Linked DNA regions of Homo sapiens: regions 1, 2 and 3 are each linked to region 4. Evidence: promoter capture Hi-C in human tissues and cell types (Jung and others, 2019). All regions are on one chromosome and are shown on one strand. The core of a region is centred on a gene start or on the middle of the fragment in contact, and the rest is flanking DNA. Distances in the headings are between cores, read along the strand shown. Region 1 holds the start of NDUFS7 (NADH:ubiquinone oxidoreductase core subunit S7). Region 2 holds the start of ADAMTSL5 (ADAMTS like 5). Region 3 holds the start of DAZAP1 (DAZ associated protein 1). Region 4 holds the start of ABHD17A (abhydrolase domain containing 17A, depalmitoylase).

Region 1 (3,508 bases), core at 510-3,009, 500 kb after region 4:
GCATTTTTTAGTAGAGACAGGGTTTCTCCATGTTGATCAGGCTGGTCTTGAACTCCCGAACTCAGGGGATCCGCCCACCTCGGCCTCCCAAAGTGCTGGGATTACAGGCCTGAGCCACCACGCCCAGCTGGTTTGTTTTTGTTTTTGTTTTTGAGACGGAGTTTCACTCTTGTTGCCCAGGATGGAGTGCAATGGTGCAATCTTAGCTCACTGCAACCTCCGCCTCCCGGGTTCAAGCGATTCTCTTGCCCCAGCCCCCCAGTAGCTGCGATTACAGGCATGCGCCACCACACCCAGCTGATTTTGTATTTTTAGTAGAGACGGGGTTTCTCCATGTTGGCCAGGCTGGTCTCGAACTCCGGACCTCAGGTGATCCGCCCACCTTGGCCTTCCAAAGTGCTGGGATTACAGGCGTGAGCCACCGCGCGTGGGCCAGGCATTCTTAACAAGGGGCCTGGTGAGGATTCAGAACTGTGAATTTGCTTGGAATAAAAAAATATATATGTCTTTGTTGTCACCAGCATCTTATGGAAAATTAGCCCTTCATTCAATTCTTAGCGTAGGCTGGGTGCCGTGGCTCCCAGCACTTTGGGAGGCTCAGGTGGGAGGATTGCTTGAACTCAGAAGTTCGAGACCAGCCTGGGCAACAGGGCAAGACCCCCATCTCTACTAAAAATACAAAAACTAGCCAGGCATGGTGGCGCACACCTGTGGTCCCAGCTACACAGGACACTGAAGTGCCAGAATCGCTTGAGCCTGGGAGGCACAGGTTGCAGTGATGAGCCAAGATGGCACCACTGCACTCCAGTCTGAGCGACAGAGGCAGACCCTGTCTTAATAAATAAATAAAAAATTCTTAGCATAGACAACAAAATACGGCAGTATTAGCAGGACCTGTAACTTTTCACCAAGCGGAATCACAGATGTTTCCTAGCTATGGTGCAGGGGCTGCAGACGTTTCCGTATCATCAAAGCCTCATTTCCACTCCTCACTCCTTCCAAATCACAGTCGCAATTAGACCTGCCGCTAGATCGCGTTCATAAGGGAAGCACTTAGATTACTAAGTCGCCAATCAGGTTTCAAGACAATCTTTTAATAACTGCCTCTCCGTGTAACTGATTTCCTTGCAATTCTATGGATTTTATTCCATGCATTTAATAACTTTATCTGAGCAGAGGTCCGCAGGCTTCAGCTGATCCCAAAAAAGTCCCTGGAGCAGGACAGGCTCTGCGAGAGGCCCTTACCTCCCAGGGGTGGGGAGGGAGGTGGAGGGTCCAGCAGGGTGGCGTGGATGTCCTGGGTCCTGTTCCTTCCCAGGCCCGGCCCTGTGACCTCGAAGACCCTCAATGGGCCTCAGTTTCCCAGCCTGTCAGGCAGGCCCCGCTCTCTCCAGGGCATCTCAAGAGCAGCCTCGCGGGCCGTGCCCTGGTCTCGGGGACGTGAATGGGGCCCCTCCAGCCTCCACCCCGAGCGCCTTCCTGAGGCTGGAGGCTTGCGTCATGACCTACCGGGCCTCGGTTTCCCCGACTGTACTCTGGACGCAATAACGGCGACCGTTCATCGCAAGCCGGGCGGGGAGCCCGAGGAGCGGCCGGCTCGGAGAAGCCCGGAGAGGACCGCGGCCACGACGCCGGCACCGACCCCCGACGCCACCACGACACCCGAGGCTCCCACGGCCCCAGACCCGCGCGGCCCCACACCCGCCGCCGGTGCCGCGCTCACCTGACAGCACCGCCATCTTGGCCTCGGCCTTCAGACAACCTCTGAGGTCCGTTCTCCTTAGCGCTCCGGGTTCCCGGGGCCGCCGCCCAAAGCGGCTCGGAGCGCATGCGGAAACCGGAACCTGGAGCCGGGAGGTTCCGCTGCGCTTTCGGCCTCCGTGGTCGTGTTGCGCCGTGCACCCCCAGATCACCCGAGGCGGAAAGGTCATCGGAGTGCGCACGTGGGGGCCGCGGGTCTGCGGCGGACCGACAAAAACAGAGGCGACACTCATTTTCTTGTTATTCCAGGAGGGCAAAAGTCACCACGCGTCCCTGGGTGGGCTCGAACCACCAACCTTTCGGTTAACAGCCGAACGCGCTAACCGATTGCGCCACAGAGACGACACTGCGCTCCGGCGCCCTGGGAGACCTTACAAAGGATGTGGGGCCTGCTGACGCGAAACGACTGCGCCTGCGCAGGGAAGGCGCAGCGCGGGACGGAGTCCCGGCGAGAGCGACTCTGCCGCCCAGCCGAAATAGCTCAGTTGGGAGAGCGTTAGACTGAAGATCTAAAGGTCCCTGGTTCGATCCCGGGTTTCGGCAGAAGTTTTAGCGCCTCTTGCGATCACTGATGTCTTTCGTTCAGGATTGGTCCAGCTGCCTCGCAGCTATCCCGGACCCCTTACCGCAACATCACCGCATTCTGCAGAGGAGTCGCCGCGATGTGGACTCATCCCAAAGTAAGGGGGCTCAGACCTCACAACCCCAAAGCCTCCTCTTCCCACCCCTAAGAGGTCATAATTTCAGCTCAAACTTCCCCCTTCCCTGACACACCCTCGATTTTCCATCTTGCTTAAATTGATAAGTTTACAACCAGTACTAATGATATAAAAACTAACACTAAACACCCAAACTAGCAAAACAGAGTTTGCAGAACGCTTTCTGCATGCATATCATTTAATTTTCACAATTCCACTGGAGGTTTTGTCTGCCTGTTTTATGATTACAAAAACAGAGGCAAAGGCCGGTGCGGTGGTTCACGCCTGTAATCCCAGCACTTTGGGAGGCTGAGGCAGGCAAATCACCTGAGGTCAGGAGTTCAAAACCAACCTGGCCAATATGGTGAAACCCTGTATCTAAATCCCAGCTACTCGGGAGGCTGAGGCAAGAGAATCACTTGAATCCGGGAAGCGGAGGTTGCAATGAGCTGAGATCGTGCCACCGCACTCCAGCCTGGGCGACAGAGTGAGACTCCATCTCAAAAAAAAAAAAAAAAGAAAAAAGAAAAAGAAAAAGTAAAGAAAACAGAGGCTCAAATTAGGTGAACACAGGTGACTAGCAAGACTGGGGGCCCCTTGAGGACCACAACAAGTGTTTACTGAATTCGTGCCATGGGCTGGGGACCCACTGCTGAGCAAAGCCAGGCCTGGTCTCTGTTCTTGGGCAGCTCAAAAGGATTGGAGGGGCCCAGCATGGTGGCTCACACCTGCAATCCCAGCACTTTAGGAAGCCGAGGCAGGAGGATCACTTGAAGCCAGGAGCTTGAGACCAGTCTGGGCAACATAGCAAGACCCCATCTCTACAATACATAATAATAATAAAGACTTGGGGGAAAAGCTGACAAGAACCTAAGAGGCTGGCAGGTGCACAAAACCCTCTTCCTTCTCTAGTTCTCATAGCTGCCCGTGCTGTAGGGTTTTGGTTTTATTTTTATTTATTTATTTTTTGAGATGGAGTCTTGCTCTGTCACCCAGGCTGGAGTACAGTGGCAAGATCTCAGCTCACTGCAGCCTCCACCTCCCTGGAT
Region 2 (3,461 bases), core at 699-3,198, 370 kb after region 4:
TGTGTGCTCCCTGTGGGCGCTGTGCTTTCTGTATACCTTCCCTGCGGGGCACAGGGCCTGCTGTCTGCACTCCCAGTGGAGCTCTGTGGACTGGACATCTGGGAATGGGGCACATCTGAGGAGGATACAATTGTCCTAATGACACATTGACACATGTCCTGAGCTGACTTCTTTCTTTCTTTCTTTCCTTTTTTTTTTTTTTTTTTTTTTTTGAGACGGAGTCTCGCCTGTCTCCCAGGCTGGAGTGCAGTGGCGTGATCTCGGCTCACTGCCACCTCTGCCTCCCGGGTTTAAGCGATTCTCGTGCCTCAGTCTTCCGAGTAGCTGGGATTACAGGCACTCACCGCCATGCCTGGCTAAGTTTTATATTTTTAGTAGATACTGGGTTTCACCATGTTGTCCAAGCTGGCTTCAAACTCCTGACCTCAGGTGATCCGCCTGCCTCGGCCTCCCACAGTGCTGGGATTCCAGGCATGAGGCGCCGCGCCCGGCCTGCCCTTCTCTCTTGACCCCTTCAGTGAGGGCCTTCTTGACATCCCCGCAACCACCACCCCCCAACCTGGGGCCATCAGTGGTGGGCCTGGGCTATTTTCTCCAATAGTCCAGGTCAGAAGGTGGGGGGTCATACATTCCAGGGGGCTGCCTTACCCGCTGGCCTGGGACTGGCTGGGTTGTTCACAGCTGTGCACACAGTAGGTGCTCAATAAATGGCATATGGGTGGCTCTGCTGACATGCTACAGGCTGGAGGGCAGACTGAGTTGGACCAGCAACACCCTGTATGTCCCCAGCAAACCTCTCTCCCTGTGGTCAGCGCTGTGGGACAGCAGGGTGGGCTTCCTGGAGGAGGGGGTGCTCAGACCGAGCCTGGGTGGAGCCCAGGGAGCAGGACAGTCCCTCCACCCCCTCCTTTAGTGCCCCAGTCCCTCAGCCCGCCCGCCAGGGGGCGCCGTGGGGCGACACCAGAAACTGGTGGAGCCCAGAACCCAGGGCCTGGTCTCATCCCTGCGTGGGTGGGCACGGGGCGGCTCACAGACGCCCGGCGGGAAAGGGTGGGGTGGGGGGAGTCCCGGGGTGCCCCCTCGCGTTGCCGGTCCGCGCAGAGCCGGATTCCAGATGGAAGGTTCGCGGTGGAGATCCCTGCCGGGCCCACTGCTGGGATGGGGAAACTGAGGCCGGAGAGGGTGTGGCCGCGGCTGTGAGGGAGAGGGACCGCCTGGACCCGGGTCTGGCTCTGAAGCCCCGCTGGCAGCCCCGGGGCCCGGCAGGGAGGGCGGGAGGCGGGGTGGGGCGCGTCCCCTGGTGACAGCAGCGCCCGGGAATGCGCCAGCTGGGAGGGTCTCTCCGCCCCCCGCGCGCGGCCCACGGGGCCGAGCCTCTCCCCAGTGCGCTGGGGCCCTGCGCTGGGGGTGACCGGGACCTGGGTCGGGGAACCCCCGGATGGGAGCCCAGGCGCGCCAGGGTCCCCATCCACGAGCAGGTCGACCCCCCGCGAGAGGGGTGAGGGGCAGGACCAGGGGAGGGGGCTGTGACCGGGGATGGGGACGCCGGTGGGACGCAATCCGGGCGTCGGCGGGGTAGGGGCAGCGCCCGGGACTCCCAGACCCAGGGCGGGGTGACCTCGGTTCGCGCACATTCCCGGGCCCTGAGCGCGGCGCCCGGAATAGCAGCCCCGGGGCAGAGGAGGGCGGTCAGTCCCCGCGCCGCGCCCCCGCCCGAGCCTGCCAAGGTCACCCGGACCCGGGCGCCCGACACCAGCCTGCGGCTCCGGGACCCCTGCGCTCGCGTCCGCCGGGCAGTCCCCTGCCGCAGATCCGCGCCCGCCGCGCGAGGGCGCCCGGGGCCGCCGCCCCTCCTGACCCGGGCCTGGGCGCGCCTGCGGAGGCCGCGGTGGGAGGGACCGTCCCAGGCTCCCCACCCCGCCCAGCACCTTGGGCCCCGCCGCTTCCGCTCGCCCTGGGGCCGCTCAGGGAGCCGGGACGCGCTGCCTGGGCTCCGCGCAGCCGGTAAGTCCATCTGCCTATCCTCCCACTTTCTCCGGGGGAAACTGAGGCCCAGAGGTGCGGCTTGCCTTGAGATCCCTCCGCCAGTCCGGGCTGCAGCCCACACGGGGAGGGGAGAGCCTTGATTCTGGGCAGGGCCCATTGAGGAGGGGGTAGGGTGGTCCTTGTAGCCCCCCACTTTTCACCACCTAGACCCCCACTCCTCAAACCAGGCTTAGAGTCCGGTGGGGGTGGTCAGAAGGTCAAGCCCCCTCCCCCTGTTTTTTTTGGTTGGTTGGTTGTTTTTGAGACTGAGTCTCACTATGTCGCCCAGGCTGGAGTGCATTGGCCCCATCTCGGCTCACTGCAACCTCCGCCTCCTGGGTTCAAGCGATTCTCCTGCCTTAGCCTCCCAAGTAGCTGGGATTACAGGTGTGCACCACCACACCGGGCTAATTTTTGTGTTTTAGTACAGATGGGGTTTTACCATGTTGGTCAGGCTGGTCCCAAACTTCTGACCTCAGGTGATCCGCCTGTCTTGGCCTCCCAAAGTGCTGGGATTACAGGCGTGAGCCACCGCACCTGGCCCCCCTCCCCTTGTTTTAAGTTTCTGGTGCAGACTTCTTCCTGCTTCCTGGGCCAGCCCAGGCTCTAGGCTCAGAGAGGGGCACGGATGCAGCAGACCACACAGCTGTCTCAGTACCTAGAGATACCCAGGACCCTAGACCCTTGGTGCCTCAGAAGTCCAAATGCTGGAGCCAGGGAAACAGGGTCCAGGTGGGACCCAGCCTCTTCCCCAGCTGGTGCCCGGGCCGGGGCTCACCCACCTGCCTTCAGGCTCTGCTGGCAGCAGGACGCCCTGGCTCACTTGGCGGCTGCTTCCCTTCCCCCCTCTTTCCCCCTGCAGGCTGGGGTCATGAGGAGGGTGTGGATGGCAAGTGACTTCATCCCTGCCCTGACAGGATGGAGAAACTAAGGCCCAGAGAGGCAGTCAGCCTCCTCCCCTTCCCTGCTCCAGCCTCAGCAGTGGCCCCTTCCCTCCACGGGCTGCCCCGGAGCTCAGTCCCACCCCCTCCGCCGATGAGGCCATGAGGCACCGAACGGACCTGGGCCAGGTCACCCCCTCCCTGTCCCATCCCCAATCCGGGGGACTCCCTGCTGTCTGGGAGCTGAGGGAGCCCTGGGGCCGGGGTGCAGCTGAGGGCCTCTTCTAGGGACCCAACTCCTGATCCAGCCCCTGCCGGCCGCACCTTCCGCAGGGTGTCACAGAATCATGGACTGAGTCCACTTGGCCCCCACTGCACAGATGGGGAAACTGAGGCCTGGGAGAGTGGAGTGGCTGGCCTCAGGCCACACGGAAAGGTAGAAGCAGTGATGGTGGGGAGGGCGGGGAGGGGGCCCCAGCCCTAGGAGGCACCTGTGTACTATTTTTGAATGATCCCTCCAATCATCAAGCATCGATTAAGCACCTACTGTCTGCA
Region 3 (3,307 bases), core at 578-3,077, 480 kb after region 4:
AGGGTGTCCATGCAGGGAGGGGACAGGAGCCCTCACCTCTCTCCAGCCTCCTCACAGCCACGGCTTGGGTGGAGCGGGCCCACGTTCACCCGCGGCTTGAATGGACCTAATCCAGGTACCCCATCTGGGAGCCCTTTCCCTGCCTCACCCCAAAGTCGATGGCTCCATCCCCCATGGCCGGTGGACTCCCTGCTCAGGCCCATCCCTGCAATGTCCCTCACACAGGCACACGGACCCTGCCAAGTCAAAGTGCCTGGAGAGGACTCACAGCACGGGCTAGGCAGGGGCTAAGTGCTTTCATCCTGGTTCTCCAACGGAAGGTGCTCTTTTGTTTTGTCTGGGGAGGGGGAGAGCCCACAAAAGGCATTTCCCATCCACAAGTGTGACCTGTAGCTGGTGCGAGAGGCGCCTGCCAAGGCAACCCTCTAGCAGCAACCGCTCCCGCACTAGCCAAGCCCAGCGCTGAGAACACAGGGCGCTGCTCAAAGCTAAGGGCACCGAGAAATTTACACCAGACCACTAGGAAACCCAACCCAGACTGTTTTGCCGGAAGAATGCAACTCTAAAACGACGTCGCTGCGGCAGGAGCCGCTCCTACCAAAGAATGGCGCCGAGCCCTGGGGCACAGCGAAATGAGGTTTCCCGGCCCCGCGGGGTCCGGAGCAGGTCAGGCTCCTATAGGAGGGGACGCCTCGGCGCAGCAAAGATCCGCGGGCCCGTCGCCGCCTCGGAAGCGCTGACTCTCCCTTCCGCAGCTCAAGCCCACCCCCGGCGGGGAGGCGCCGAGGCAACGTAAACACAGCAGGCCCCGGCTGACCCGAGCCCCCTGGGCCCTGGGTTTGCGAACCCCTCCCGACCTTACCACTTTGGGGGGGTGGGATGGGAGCGGGGAGCCCGGAGCCCCGAGTGGGATAGGTTGGGCGGTGGCAGAACCGGAACCCTCGCCTCGGCTCGCCACGTGCGCCGCCCGCCAAGTTTGGGCGCGCGCTGGGGGCGCCCCGGACCACCCCCCACGCCACAGTTTGGGGTCCCCCTGGCCAGGAAGCCGGGAGGCGGCGGCGACGGCGCCCTGGACTCCCCGCAGACTCCCTCAGGTTCTCATTCGGGGTCCCCCAGGCCAGGAAGCCCTACAGGCGGCAACGGGGACGCTCCAGACCCCCCCAAGTTCCCGTTCGGGGCCGCCACAACCAGGAAGCGGCGGCGGGGGCCCCTGAACCCCTCTGGCTCCCATTCGGGGTCCCTCAGGACGCGCAGTCGGGAAGCGGCGGCACGGGCGCCCCAGGACACCCCCCCAGGTTGCCGTTCGGGGTTCCCCCGACCAGGAAGTCTGGAGGCGGCGGCGGGGCCCCCCGGACCCCTCAGGCTCTCCTTCAGGATCCCCCAGGACGGGAAGCCGGGAAGCGGCGGCGGGGGCGCCAGGACCCCCCCAGACCCCGGGCACCCGTCCAGGGCCCCCGGCGCGAAGCCGCGGCGAGTCCGGGTCCCGAGTCCGCCCCCGGCCGGCGTGACCTTGACGGGGCGGCCCCGGGGGGCGGCGTCTGAGGCCGGGCGGCGGGGAGCGGCGGGCCGGGCTCGGGGCGGAGACGCAGGCCCGCGCCGCTCGTCCTCACCCGATCTCGTCGGCGCCCGAGTTGTTCATGGCGGCGGCGGCGGCGACGCTCGGCGCTCCCGGGCCTCCTCGCTCGCTCCCGCCTCCGGAAGGTCACCCGCTCCGTCGCCCTCCCCACAGCCGCGGCCCGGATCTGCGCAACGGCGGCGGCGGCGGCGGCGGCGGCGGCGGCGGCGGCGGCGGCTGCCTCCTCCCCTCGGCGCCAACGGTCACCGCGCGTCCCCGCGCCGCCGCGCCGCCGCCCCTGCGCACGCCCGGGCGCGCTCCCGCACGGGGTCTCCGGGGGCGGGTCCAGGGGTACTCCGTCTGTGCGTGCGTCCCTGAGGCGGATTTCGCGCCGCCGCAGTCGGGGCCGTCGCGCGTTTTCCTTTCTCCTCGGAGGCTCCTGGCGTTGCCGCGGGGCACGCTGGGAAATGGAGTCCCTGCGCTGGCCCCGCCCCTGCAAGGGGAGGATGCGCGCGGGCCGAGCCACGTGCGTGCGTGCGCGCGCGTGCGGGCTTGCGTGCGCGTGCGCGCTTGCGAGACCGGCGCTCCGGGCTAGGCACTGTGGGCGCAGGCGCGGCTGCCGCTTCCTCTTTAACTCTTCACTCGGAAGCGGTGGAGCCGCGTGGGGCGCTGCGGGGAGTGGGAGTGTACCCGCCCGCACCCCAGGCGGGCGGACGGAGCGGGAACGGCACGTGAGCGTCCCGCGCGAGGCTCCTTCCCCTGTCCGCATTTCACAGAAGAGGATCCCGAGGGTCCGAGAGGCTGAGTCACTTGGCCAAGGTCACCCAGTTCGGGGCTGAACTGGAATCAAATCAAAACAATTAACTAAATTCAATGACTATGAAAAGATATTATTGACCCCCCCCCCAAGTGCTATTACTATTAATAGCCAAATACTGTTTTAGTTGCATCTGTTAATTGCATACATCAGTGGTTCTTCTTCTGGGTGACTTTGCCCCCTAGGGGATAACTTGGCAATGTCTGAAAACACGGTTTTGGTTGTCACAACTTGAGTGCGGGGTGCTGCTGGCATCGAGTGGGTCCAGACCAGACATGCCGCTCAGCACCCTGCAGTGCACACGACGACCCCCCAAAAAGAATGATACCCGTCCTCCAATGTCAGCAGAAGGAGGTGGAAAAACCGGTCTAGGCTGACGGTAGTAAACAGGTGACCCGCAGGGTTTTGTAAAACCGGGTACGTGCTGCCTACTGCTTTTCTCCTTAATCTCACAGCACATTGACAGCCTGATCGTTTGGTTTATTCATCATCACAGAATTAAATAAATACAAGGAACAAGGCCGGGTGAGGTGGCGCACGCCTATAATCCCAACACTTTGGGAGGCCGAGGATCAATTTAGGTCAGGAGATCGAGACCAGCCTAGCCAACATATATAGTGAAACCCCGTCTCTACTAAAAATACAAAAGAAAATTAGCCGGGCGTGGTGGTGGGCGCCTGTAATCCCAGCTACTCGGGAAGCTAAGGCCGGAGAAATGCTTGAAGGCAGGAAGTAGAGGTTGCAGTGAGCCGAGATCGCGCCACTGCACACCAACCTGGGCAACAGAGCAAGACTCCCTCTTAGAAAAAAAAGGGCCGAGCATGGTGGCTCACTCCTGGAATCCCAGCAGTTTGGGAGGCCAAGGTGGGCGGATCACGAGGTCAGGAGATCGAGACCATCCTGGCTAACATGGTGAAACCCCGTCTCTACTAAAA
Region 4 (3,199 bases), core at 629-3,128:
GGCCCCTTTGGTGTCTGCAGCCCTTTCTGCCCCTGTCCCTGTCACTTCCTTAGAAAGGCCTGCCCTGACCACGCTCTGAGATTCTCCAGTAACCTTCTTCCATTTTCTTTTCTTTACTTTTTTTTTTTTTGAGGCAGAGTCTTGCTCTGTCGCCCAGGCTGGAGTGCAGTGGCGTGGAGTAGCTGAGATTACAGGTGCGCGCCACAACAGCCGGCTAATTTTTGTATTTTTAGTAGAGATGGGGTTTCACCATGTTGGCCAGGGTGGCCTAATTTTTGTATTTTTAGTAGAGACAGGATTTCACCATGTTGGCCAGGCTGAACTCCTAACTTCAGGTGATCTGCCTGCCTCGTTCTCCCAAAGTGCTGAGATTACAGGCGTGAGCCACTAGGCCCTGCCATAATGCAATTTTTTTTTTTTTTGAGACGGAGTCTCGCTCTGTCGCCCAGTCTGGAGTGCAGTGGCGCGGTCTCAGCTCACTGCAAGCTCTGCCTCCTGGGTTCACGCCGTTCTCCTGCCTCAGCCTCCCGAGTAGCTGGGACTACAGGCGCCCGCCACCACGCCCGGCTATCTTTTTGTATTTTTAGTAGAGATGAGGTTTCACCGTGTTAGCCAGGATGGTCTTGATCTCCTAACCTCATGATCTGCCCGACTCGGCCTCCCAAAGTGCTGGGATTATAGGCGTGAGCCACCGCGCCCAGCCCATAATGAAATTTTTTTAAGAGACAGGATCTTGCTCTCTCGCCCAGGCTGGAATGCAGTGGAGTGATCATAGTTTTATTTATTTATTTATTTATTTATTTATTTATTTATTTATTTATCTGAGACAGTCTTCTTGCTCTGTCACTTGGGCTGGAGCACAGTGGCCCGATCTTGGCTCACTGCAACCTTCGCCTCCCGGGTTCAAGCGATTCTCCTGCCTCAGCCTCCGGAGTAGCTGGGACTACAGGCGCGTGCCACCATGCCCGGCTAATATTTGTATTTTTAGTAGAGACAGGGTTTCACCACGTTGGTCAGGCTTGGTCTCAAACTCCTGACTTCAGGTGATCTACCTGTTTCAGTCTCCCAAAGTGCTGGGATTACAGGCATGAGCCACCGTGCCCGGCCTAATGTAATATTTTAAAAACTAATGCAAAAGAATTTCTGATGAGCAATATATAAAGACTTTAAATAAGCTGGTCATGGTGGCTTGTGCCTATAGTCCTAGCTACTCAGGAGGCTGAAGTAGGAGGTTCACTTGATCCTGGGAGGTCGAGGCTGCAGTGAGCTATGATGGCACCAGCCTGGGTGACAGAGTAGACTCTATGTTAAAAAAAAGAGGCCAGGTGCGGTGGCTGATGCCTGTAATCCCAACACTTTGGGAGGCTGAGGCAGGAGGATTCTGGGGTCAGGAGTTCGAGGCCACACTGGCCAACATGGGGAAACCCCGTCTCTACTGAAAACACAAAAATTAGCTGGGCATGGTGGTGGGCGCCGGTAATCCCAGCTACTCAGGAGGCTGAGGCAGGAGAATCGCTTGATCCCAGGAGGCAGAAGTTGCAGTGAGCTGAGATCGCGCCATTGTACTCCAGCCTGGGCGACAGAGCGCGACTCCATCTCATAAAGAAAAATATTTTAAAACATTTCTAAATGTTGATGTCTGAGTTTTTTTTGGCGTCCCTGTAAATTTTGTTTTCCAGGCGAGAACTTTACTGGCCTCAACCTATTCCGGGTCCCCAAGTGAATGAAACCTAAGTTTGGCCCCGCCCACAGAGCAGCAGGCCACGCCCCTCGACATATCAGCCCCGCCCCCAGGACGCTAGTCGCGCGGTCGCTCTGTGCCTGCAGACCCCCGCCCCGCGCGCTCCTCGCGTCACTTCCGGGGCGGTGGTGAGAACGAGGCTCACTTCCGTCCGTGGGGGGAGCTGCGGCGGTGGCGGTGCAGGAGGCCGGGCAGGGGTGCGGAGGGACCGACGGACGCACGGGCGGGCGGCCGGGAGCCATGGAGCGCGGCCCTGGGGCCCGGGGGCGCGGGCCGGGGTGGTGAGTGCCGGGCAGGGGCGGGGGCGGGCGCGGCCGCGCGGGGTCCCGGGCCGGGCCTCGAGGGCCTGACAGCCCGGTTGGACGTCCCCGAGACCCCTGCAGTCCCAGGGCTTCCGCGGGTCCTGCCCGAGGAGCCCAGAGCAGGGGCGCGGACCGCGGATGAGCGTCTGTGATTGGGAAAGCCCTGTCCCCATCCATTCAGCCCTCCGGCGTGGGTTGCGCTCCCACCCTCCTGCGGACGCGGCCCTTGCCTTCGGGGAGCACCCGTCCGAGCCGCGGATTCCGCTCTTTTGCCCCGAAACTGCCCCCAGTCCGACAAACGCTTCGGCCTCTCGCCCCCCAAGGCAGCTCCCAGGGGCCCTCCCGAGCCCTGCTTCCCAACCAGCTCCCAGTCGCTGTTTCCCTTGTCAGGCTTCTTCCTGCCACCCTGACTCCTGGGCGGGCTTCCCGGCCTCCGCTCGCGTCCGTTCTCCGGGATGCAGCCCTTCTCCTATGTTGTCCATCGCTTGCTCGGGACTTCTTCGCGGCCCCGCCATTTCTCCCAGGATGAAGTGCAAACTCTCGGGGGCGCGACCTCACCCGTCCCAGGCTCTCTCTTAGGACCCTTCTGCTCACTTCTTCCTCCCAGGGTCTGCTCTAGCCAGGAGCCTGCTCTGTCACCTCGGATTTTGCTCCTGCTTGTCCCTCTGTCCCATCCCCCTGTCACCTGGCCCGTTTGTCTGCCCTCTGATATGGCCGCGCCTCCCCCCAGGCGGGTTTCCCACCCTGACTGGTTGAGTGAGGTGCAGTCACCGTCTCCCATATGTAGGTCATCTTCCAGTATTTTGGCTGCTCGGTTGCTTGCTGGTCCTCAGAACACCTCTAGCTTGCAGAGGGTTGCCCAGTTAAGTGCGTGGGAACGGAATTGGTGGGATTCAGGGTGTCAAGGGTGTGTGCCCAGTGAGTGAGGCGTCTGGGTTTGCACTCCCCAGTCCACGCCCATTAGTGACACTAGGGAGGTTCCAGGTACCTGTGGCTGGAGAGGAGAGGAGACTAGACTTTCCCTTCCCTGTCAAAGCTGGCGGACCTTGGGGATTCTTTTCCTCCTGTGCTTCCTCCTTAATTCTGTGCTGCCTACCACCTGCCCATTCCTTTAGTGAGTGGCAGGTCATGGTCCTGCTCTCATAGAGTTTCTGGT

The links. Contacts are between HindIII fragments. The study calls those that stand out against the background at their distance.
Region 1: a contact is called between the fragment with the promoter of NDUFS7 here and the fragment with the promoter of ABHD17A in region 4, in 1 of the 25 tissues and cell types used here (dorsolateral prefrontal cortex).
Region 2: a contact is called between the fragment with the promoter of ADAMTSL5 here and the fragment with the promoter of ABHD17A in region 4, in 1 of the 25 tissues and cell types used here (dorsolateral prefrontal cortex).
Region 3: a contact is called between the fragment with the promoter of DAZAP1 here and the fragment with the promoter of ABHD17A in region 4, in 1 of the 25 tissues and cell types used here (lymphoblastoid cells).

What each region holds. Positions count from the first base shown.
Region 1 is chr19:1,382,158-1,385,665 of GRCh38, reverse strand. NDUFS7 (NADH:ubiquinone oxidoreductase core subunit S7) reads right to left here and starts at 1,759. Exons shown (of 8, transcript NM_024407.5): 1 at 1,724-1,759. The coding sequence starts at 1,739. TRF-GAA1-6 (tRNA-Phe (anticodon GAA) 1-6) reads left to right here and starts at 2,232; the gene lies at 2,232-2,304. TRN-GTT2-6 (tRNA-Asn (anticodon GTT) 2-6) reads right to left here and starts at 2,103; the gene lies at 2,030-2,103. RefSeq lists silencers at 1,630-1,689, 1,940-2,079, 2,260-2,389. The HindIII fragment of the contact is 12,722 bases long and covers 1-3,508 here.
Region 2 is chr19:1,511,506-1,514,966 of GRCh38, reverse strand. It overlaps ADAMTSL5 (ADAMTS like 5), which reads left to right and starts at 1,948. Exons shown (of 12, transcript NM_213604.3): 1 at 1,948-2,004. RefSeq lists silencers at 835-914, 1,754-2,123. The HindIII fragment of the contact is 17,964 bases long and covers 1-3,461 here.
Region 3 is chr19:1,406,106-1,409,412 of GRCh38, reverse strand. DAZAP1 (DAZ associated protein 1) reads right to left here and starts at 1,827. Exons shown (of 12, transcript NM_018959.4): 1 at 1,611-1,827. The coding sequence starts at 1,639. RefSeq lists silencers at 924-1,023, 1,404-1,613, 1,754-1,983. The HindIII fragment of the contact is 8,178 bases long and covers 1-3,307 here.
Region 4 is chr19:1,884,175-1,887,373 of GRCh38, reverse strand. It overlaps ABHD17A (abhydrolase domain containing 17A, depalmitoylase), which reads left to right and starts at 1,878. Exons shown (of 5, transcript NM_001130111.2): 1 at 1,878-2,022. RefSeq lists an enhancer at 1-299 and a silencer at 2,466-2,613. The HindIII fragment of the contact is 23,112 bases long and covers 1-3,199 here.